Linked DNA regions of Homo sapiens: all the other regions are linked to region 3. The links are contacts of gene promoters, found by promoter capture Hi-C in blood cells and fetal thymus (Javierre and others, 2016). All regions are on one chromosome and are shown on one strand. Each heading gives the region's core, a stretch centred on a gene start or on the middle of the fragment in contact. The rest is flanking DNA. Distances are from core to core; before and after follow the strand shown. Region 1 holds the start of ZNF671 (zinc finger protein 671). Region 2 has its middle 4.4 kb from the start of ZNF548. Region 3 holds the start of ZNF284 (zinc finger protein 284).

The links. The method cuts DNA at HindIII sites, captures the fragments that hold promoters and counts their contacts. A CHiCAGO score of 5 or more calls a contact.
Region 1: a contact is called between the fragment with the promoter of ZNF671 here and the fragment with the promoter of ZNF284 in region 3, in 1 of 17 cell types (non-activated CD4 T cells). The highest score is 5.6, in non-activated CD4 T cells.
Region 2: a contact is called between a fragment that was not itself captured here and the fragment with the promoter of ZNF284 in region 3, in 1 of 17 cell types (total CD4 T cells). The highest score is 8.5, in total CD4 T cells.

The regions. Positions count from the first base shown.
Region 1 is chr19:57,726,160-57,728,974 of GRCh38, reverse strand. It overlaps ZNF671 (zinc finger protein 671), which reads left to right and starts at 1,351. Exons shown (of 4, transcript NM_024833.3): 1 at 1,351-1,584. The coding sequence starts at 1,447. RefSeq lists enhancers at 1,005-1,054, 1,195-1,634, 1,152-1,652 and a silencer at 973-1,198. The HindIII fragment of the contact is 7,103 bases long and covers 608-2,815 here.
Region 2 is chr19:57,384,091-57,386,874 of GRCh38, reverse strand. No RefSeq gene overlaps it. Among named protein-coding and RNA genes, the nearest start is that of ZNF548, 4.4 kb to the left of the region's middle. The HindIII fragment of the contact is 972 bases long and covers 961-1,932 here.
Region 3 is chr19:44,070,694-44,073,532 of GRCh38, reverse strand. It overlaps ZNF284 (zinc finger protein 284), which reads right to left and starts at 1,374. Exons shown (of 5, transcript NM_001037813.4): 1 at 1,242-1,374. The HindIII fragment of the contact is 12,821 bases long and covers 1-2,839 here.

The sequences.
Region 1 (2,815 bases), core at 102-2,601, about 14 Mb before region 3:
AAAAACACCTACTGAGAGCTCGTATGTGTTCCTTGGATGTGTATTTTAACAGTGAATTATCAAGACAGCACAACTTCACTGTTGATTTTTACCATTCTGATATCTTCTTTACAATTGCTCAGCATTTTCAGGAAAAAAGAGTCACATTTTGTTGACAAAGTGTGGTCAAGATCACAACACAACCATATGCTTAACTTCATTCTTTCACTTATACTTTAGTATTCAGGCTCAAACTTTACTGAGATCTTAACTTTGTCCATCTATCACAGATATTTCCTTAGAGCAATTTCTTTCATTATCTTCAAATAACTACGGAATCATTATTAATAGCTGTCAGGATTTTTCCCCCGGGGATAATCTCACCTCCTAACACAGACACCATACTTACAATGACAATGACAGGTTAAATGGTAATTGCACTGTGTTTTGCTGTGATGGAGACATCACTGATTACCCAGGCAGGAAGAGTTTTCTGAAGAAATCTGTCCACTGGTTTCAGGGAGACTCCACATCATCCCTCTTCCTTCTTCCACTCCAAGGCCTTGTTTGGAATATTTTCTCTTCCGTCTCTGACCAAACTGAAGCTCACAAAAGTTACTGTAAAGCTTGAGTGCACACATATTTAAAAAGCAACAAGGTAATAGTTATTAGCTTCTAGCTGTGAGTGTACGCAAAGAGACATTGTGGTGTGGTGTATCTATTTAGTTTTGCAGCTTTGGGGAACATCTGAAATGTCTCAACATTTCTGCGATCGGTGCATACTACACTCCAGGGAATCTAGGTCCAGGCCTTTTAAGAGGACAGAAGTCAGCCGGGCACCATGGCTCACTCCTGTAATCCCAGCACTTTGGGAGGCCGAAGCAGGCAAATCACAAAGTCAGGAGTTCGAGACCAGCCTGGCCAACATGGTGAAATCCCGTACTCTGCTAAAAGTACTAAAATTAGCCTGGCGTGGTGGCGGGCCCCTGTAGTCCCAATTACTTGGGAGGCTGAGGCAGGAGAATCGCTTGAACCCGGGAGGCGGAGGTTGCAGTCAGCCGAGATCGCGCCACTGCACTGCAGCCTGGGAGACAGAGCGAGACTCTGTCTCAAAAAAAAAAAAAAAAAAAAAAAAGAGGACGGAAGTCCTGTCAGCCCTTTGAAACTCGGGTTACTTTTCCCAAACAACTTGGCCCTCCTACTTCGAGTTTTCCCAAGAGCCCAGGCCGAGAATCCCCTGCCTTGAAGGATAGCTCAGTGGGAACCACACTCTACCCACAAACCTATACGTTGCATACCCAATGAGGGCCCAGGAGAGGGGTGTTTCAGTGCCTGCGGGGGGTGCGTGGGCGGGACTTCCGGCTCCTCCTTGTAGCGGACATTTTGTTTCTGTCAGGCTGTCCCTGGCCGGGGTTCTGTAACGCTTGTGTGGGCCGCAGGTGGAGGTGTTGGGAAAGCGCGGAGGAGATGTTGTCCCCAGTGTCCCGAGACGCGTCTGATGCTCTGCAGGGACGGAAGTGCCTGCGTCCCCGATCGAGACGCCTGCCGCTCCCGGCAGCTGTCCGCGCCCACGGTCCTATGGCGGAGCTAACGGACTCCGCGCGGGTGGGTGCTGCGTCCTCCGGGCCCTCAGTCACCCTTTCTCCGACTCCGAATCGTAAAGTGCCTGCAGCCCCTGTGTCCCAGGACAGCGACGCACTCTTGGGGCGGGGTCCTATCTCGGTGTGGGTGGGTGTGGGAGAGTTACGGGCGGAGGGGACGGCGCAGGTAAAGGCTCGGGGGTGCTGCTGACCCCCAAACATTTGGGAGACAGGGTTCTCATCAACACAGAGCAGAGTTTGAGGAACTGTGACTGGAATGGCAGGCTGAGAAGTTGTCGCTTCATTCTGAGGGCGTTGAGATTAACTGAGGGTTTTGAATAGAAGGACGTGATCTTAGCTGGGATTTTAAGTGTCTCGAAATTTGCTCAGGGGAGAACATTAGTTTGGGGTGGGGACTGCGAGGATGGATACGAGGAGACCGGTAAGGAGGCTACTGCAGTGGATTCCAGGAATGCTTTGGTGGTGGATGTACCAAGAGTAATGGCAGGTGAGTGGGTAGAAGTGATCATATTCTGGGTAGGTTTTAAATTTGAAACCAACAGGATTTTCTGCTCCATCATATGCAGCTATGACTGAAAGTAAGGCATGAAAGAGCAAGGTGTTTTTGTTGTTTTTCCATGAACGTTTGGATTTTGGAATGGTGACTTTGAGATGTCTCAGAGTGGAGGCTTCCTCACTTAGGCAACTAGAGAGGAAGGTCTGAAGTTGTGGGGAAGGGGCTGGGCTTAGAATATCTTTGGGGTGAAGGGAGCGGTCTGGAGTAGGTCAAGGCCAGGAGGTCAGATTTAAGTGGGGCAGTCTTAAGTATGTTATTTCATATCTCTGGGGTAAGAGATGAGAAGGCTGGGACTGCAGGGCAGGGAAGAGGGAGTGGGCATTCTTGAGACTCCCCCCAGAAGAGAAGGGTCCTGCCATTTGAAAGGGTTCTTTTCAGTGTTTGCAGGAGGAGAGAGCTGTAGGGTATGAGGAGTTTGGCCTGGGATGGCAACGATGGGTGGTGTGCTATTGCTACTATCTGATTATCTCACCCTCATTTTGTGTGTTTTCTTTTAGTTTTAGTTTATTTATTTTTTTTATTTTTTTTGAGACGAAGTCTCACTCTGTCGCCCAGGGTGGGATGCAGTGGCTTATTGCAACCTCTACCTCCCGGGTTCAAGAGATTCTCCCGCCTCAGCCTCCCAAGTAGTTGAGATTACAGGTGCCCACAACCACCCCTGGCTAATTTTAGTATTTAT
Region 2 (2,784 bases), core at 197-2,696, about 13 Mb before region 3:
TGATTTCTTACAAATTCTGGCTGTTGGGAAACCAAAAATGGGGAATGAGAATTAAGTTGCTGGCTTATGTTCAAGTAAGGAAAAAATTTATCTCTGCCCCAAATCCATAATCATAAACAAGAAACCACCATTAATTAGAGATAACTTGGGATGTGTACCTATGCTTTAAAAGTCAGCTAGTCAGCAAAAGCTTCACCCCAGTAATTAACCAGAAACTTAGCAAATCATTGTTAGGCCAAGATTCTAAAATTTTTCCAATGGGGGTAAGGCCCAGTACTAAAGATGGTCAATCAGTGGCAGCCCCAGGCTGCTGGCAACAACTAATCCACAAGTGCCTCCTGTCAGTAATCCTGTTTATGAAAGCCAGTTGGTAAATGGTTGCATTTACACTAACATACCTGAAAGTCCATCAGTCTTTCAACTCTGCTGCTTCTGAAAGTCCTCAGTCCCTGAAGGCCAGCCTTCCTAAAAGCTCATATAATAGCAGTTTTGGCTTTGTTTGAGGAGACTGCCTGACCACTACAGCTCTGCCCTGCAGACAAATAGGAATATCACTTTTTTTCCCTTGAGATATCAAAATCTATTTATTCTTTTTTTTTTTTTTGAGACGGAGTCTCACTCTGTCGCTGGGCTGGAGTGCAGTGGTGTGATCTCGGCTCACTGCAACCTCCGCCTCTCCGGTTCAAGTGATTCTCCTGCCTCAGACTCTCAAGTAGCTGGAACTACATATGCACGCCACCACGCCCAGTTAATTTTTTTGTATTTTTAGTAGAGACGGGATTTCACCATGTTGGCCAGGATGGTCTCGATCTCTTGACCTCATGATCCGCCTGCCTCGGCCTCCCAAAGTGCTGGGATTACAGGCATGAGCCACCACGCCTGGCCCCATTTATTCTTAATTGAATATAAATTATTACTTATATTTTAATTATATGAATATAATTTAAAAGTTTGCAAGCTTTCAATGGTTCCATCTGTTTGTAATTAGTTATGAGTTTGGATATGAAATGGTAGACTAACTGACCCAGACATACATTGTAAAATCCAACGTTTTCTCCAGTGTTTTCTTTTTTCTTTCTTTTCTTTTTTTTTTTTAAGATACAGTTTCACTCTGTCACCCAGCTGGAGTGCAGTGGCGCAATCTCGGCTCACTGCAACCTCTGGCTCCCAGGTTCAAGTGATTCTCATGCCTCAGCCTCCCAAGTAGCTGGGATTACAGGCGCGTGGCACCATGCCTGGCTAATTTTTTGTATTTCTATTAGAGATGGGGTTTCGCCATGTTGGCCATACTGGTCTCGAACTCCTGACCTCAAGTGATCTGTCCGCCTAGGCCTCCCAAAGTGCTGCGATTACAGGCATGAGCCACTGTACCCACAATGTTTTTCAACTCTTGTAGAAGTTGCTATTGTCTATATTTTGAGTATATTGAATGCAAAAAATGTCAAAATGCAAGTTTATAATTTATGATGAACTGAGGAGTATTTAAAATTCCCTTTGAAGGTCTTCGACTCTATGTAATTGCCCATTGACTAATGAAAATGGTGGACAGTCAAATATATATTAACTTTGGAAGGTGCATGATTTTCTCAACTAGTTCCAAAGAAAGAGACAAAATAACTTTTTTGTTAAAATCAGATGGAGATGGTAGAATAATTATAATAGAGTTTGTAATGTTTTCTACACTGTTTATCATCATGAGTCTTTAGGCTCAGAATGCTACTGTTGAGTGTGTTTCTCATTAATGAATGTCCAATAGATAAAGGAATGAAATAAGTTGAATATGACAAATGACGAAGGTTTGTCACAACATAAATGGCATCAAGACTGTAACTGCAGGAATTCTGTAAGCAAATTATATAAAACAAGGAATTGTTAAGTAGAAGCAAATTATCAGGGAAAGAGTTATGTCATTAGAACTGTGATCCCCAAGCTTTTTAGTACCAGGGACCGGTTTTGTGGAAGACAATTTTTCCATGGATAAGGGAGAGGGGTTTGGGGGCAGATGGTTTCAGAGGCATTAGATTCTCATAAGGAGCATACAACCTAGATCCCTCTCTTGTGCAGTTCACAGTAGGGTTTGCACCCCTATGAGAATCTAATGCTGCTGCCGATCTGACAGGAGGCGGAGATCAGGCAGCAATGCTCACTCATCTGCCACTCACCCTCTGCTATATGGCCCCATTCCTAACAGGCCATAGTACTCATCTGTGGCCCCAGGGGTTGGGGACCCCTGATTTAGAATGTATTTCAGATAAACAACAAATAATTTTATGATGAGTATGTCACATACAATATTTATCTTTTATCTCACTGCACATATACATAGGGAATTAGAAATAATTCAAATTTAACCAGGTCAAGTATCAGTTACAAAATTTGACAATTCTTTTCATCGTAATTTTTTTCTGAACCTATGCATTATATTGAGCATCCTCATTTTTGAACCTAGTAACTCATTCACAGAATTTCTGCTACCCTTCTTCTTTTTTCTTTTTTTCTTTTTTTTTTTTTGAGACAGAATCTTGCTCTGTCACCCAGGCTGGAGTGCATTGGCGCGATCTCAGCTCACTGCAACCTCTGCCTCCCGGCTTCAAGCGATTCTTCTGCCTCAGCCTCCTGAATAGCTGAGATTATAGGCGCCCGCCACCATGCCCGGCTAATTTTTTTTTTTGCCCTGTCGCCCAGGCTGGAGTGCAATGGCATGATCTCAGCCCACTGCAACCCCCTCTTCCCGGGTTAAAGCAATTCTCCTGCCTCAGCCTCCCGAGTAGCTGTGATTACAGG
Region 3 (2,839 bases), core at 125-2,624:
TAACAGTTACTATCTTTACATGCTGGATTCATGGGTAATTATAAACTTGTACTACTCGTATTTCTCCAATTTCTGAACGCTCCACAATCATACCGCTGCATAACAAGTGAAATATTTGTAATAAATGAAATAGTTCTAATGAATGAAATAGTTGATAAACTCCCAGAACAGTCCAAGCCCATAAGCCTTGCTCTCAAGGCTCCCTTCAATCAAGTCCTAGCTTGCTTTCCCCACTAGATTCCAGCTAGTTCCTCTGCCTCAATGAGAATGTATCCAAAAGATTATCAACTAAGGCTCTGACCTGTAACGCCCAGGTTTCAACCGCAGCTCCACCTCTTACTGCTTAGGTGACTATTCTCAGATAACTCCTGCTCCTTTGTATCTCACTCATCTTTAAAACTGAAAAAAGTAGTACCTCTCCACAGAGCCACGGTGTGGCGAAAATGTGACTACTTGTATAAAGCTCTTGGGATAAAGTTACCAATTGAGGCTTAATTATTATCAACACCCATGCCTGAGGACACATCCTACACTCTTGGTCGGGGTGAGCATCTCTGTAAAAGAAAAAAAGCCAAGGACCACTCTCGTGGAACTTTGCCCTCAGTAGCCAAGAAGTCCCTCCCTGCAGCTCTTTTTGAGAATCAGGCTGGGGAAGGAGAAAGCTGTGAAACACCCTGACCGCATTGCCGTCCGGCATAAAAGTTAAATGTTCCTCTCCCTTCGTGGAAATGGAAACAACCCTCGCCTTCCTAAAAAGAGGTCAGAAGCGTCCGGGATCACCCAGCGTCCTGCAGGAATCAGAGACAAGGGCGGGGATCCCTGCAGATGGAGCTCTGACCCCACCCGGGGACCTGACAGGCTTCGTGGGAAATAAACACTAAGAAGAGACCACCAGTCACTAAGGGAGGGGCTGCTTTAAGGCTTTCATTTGTGTTACCTCTTCCAGTTCCCAAAACGATTTCATTAGGATGGTCCTAAAGTCCCCATTTTAAAGAACAGCAGTGGGAGGTACAGGGAGATTAATAACATCCCAACCCTAAATTGTGAGAAAGTAGCCTCACAGGTGGGATGGAGGGAGGCGGACTGAGCGAGCTGAGAGCCCCAAAAACCCTCAAACCAGGCGAGACGCGTCCCGACCAAGTCCCAACCCCCAGCCTCATGCCCGGGGACGCGAGGACAGCCCCAAGACCAAGAAGGCTCCGCTGACAAGAACGAAAAGAGAGGCCGTTGTCCCTCCAAACCTCCGTTTTCCAACGAGACTCCTTCTCCCCTTAGTCAACTTCCAGGTGGTTGCGAGCCAGCATCGTAAGGGGACACGTTTAGAAGGACCGACAAGACACAGGACTGACACCAAACTACCACCGAATGCACTGCAGCAACCTCGCCCCCCGGGAGCGGAAGTGCCCCTACCCCGCGCAGCGTGTGAACTACATTTCCCAGAATTCCCCGGATACGCCGTCCTGAGCCTACTTGCTCGTCATTCAACAGATCTCCTGCGCTACACTTCCTTGAATCTCAAAGGAGACGTTCTATAGTATCACCTTCCGGCGGGAAGCGTGGGACTCCGCGGTGCTCTTTGACTACACTTCCTGCAATGCCCACGAGGAATGAATCCCATAGACCCAAGCGCCTGGTTTGGAATATGGACTGTGGCCCTGAGAGTGGTCCTTCCCTCTCCCTGCGTCCTCGAGAGAAAATATTGAATAGACAGGAATTCCTGAAGTCTACACGCCTCCCATGATGACAGGAGTGTTACTGAAAGAGAACAAAGCAAGGAGATACAATCTTCAAGGAGTTAGCGGGGAGTGACTGTGGAGCGGTCAGGAGATGGCTGAAAGGCTAATATACTAGACGCTAATAGTATGAGGCTAAATCTAAGAGCTTAAATAATGGGCCAGGAAAAATGGTTTGGGAGAGGCATTGAGTGGGGCACCAGCCCCTGGTACAACCAGACACTGTTGTACCACTGGTTTGGCAAGAAAAACAACCACAGTTTAAGTGTTTAAGAGGGCTGTAAGAGTTAAAGAGAAAAAAAAAAAAAACACGAAAAGCGGCTCAACAGTCAAAGACAGGTTCGTTTTGGAGAATAAACCGAGAGGGCCTTCTGGCCGATTGCAGTCAGGAGCGCTCTCTCTTACGGACTAAGAGTATGTATTGGCTTTAGGGAGAGAGAGCTTACCACAGGCTTAGAATGTTTCTGTATTGGGGAGAAGTCTGTTGTGGGGTTGGAATATCTCTGGTTGGAGGGGAAGTTATCTTGGGACTGACATCTCTCCAATGGAAGGGAGGTTATCTCGGTGCTGGCATGTCTCTGGTCAGGGAGGGGTTTATCTTATGGTTGGAATGTTTCTGATTGGAGATGTCATTTGTGGTTTATGGTCATGCTGACCTTAGCCATTAGGCTGATGCCCTTTGGATTTAGGCAGTTTTTGATCAACGCGAACTTTAAAATGGCAGTGTTTGTCCAAGATGGCGATGCTCCTGCCCTGTCAAGGGCCAATATGGAGGGCCAATTGCCCTCCTGGAAAAGCTATCTTCCCACTTTTAAAGTTTTCATATTAATATTCTTTAGACGTGGAAATGCCACATTTAAGAGAAATTAAACTGCTTAGTATTGTGAAAGGAAAATATCTTGGGCCCCCAAAATCACTAAGGAAATCTCAAGCTGGAAATCGCTTAGGGCAAACCTGCCTCCCATTCTATTCAAAGTCACTCCTCTATCTGTCCTTGCTATCACGAGAACAGCATGGGAAAGACCCACTCCCATGATTCAATTACCTCCTACTAGGTCCCTTTCATGATATGTGGGAATTATGGGAGCTATAATTCAAGATGAGAT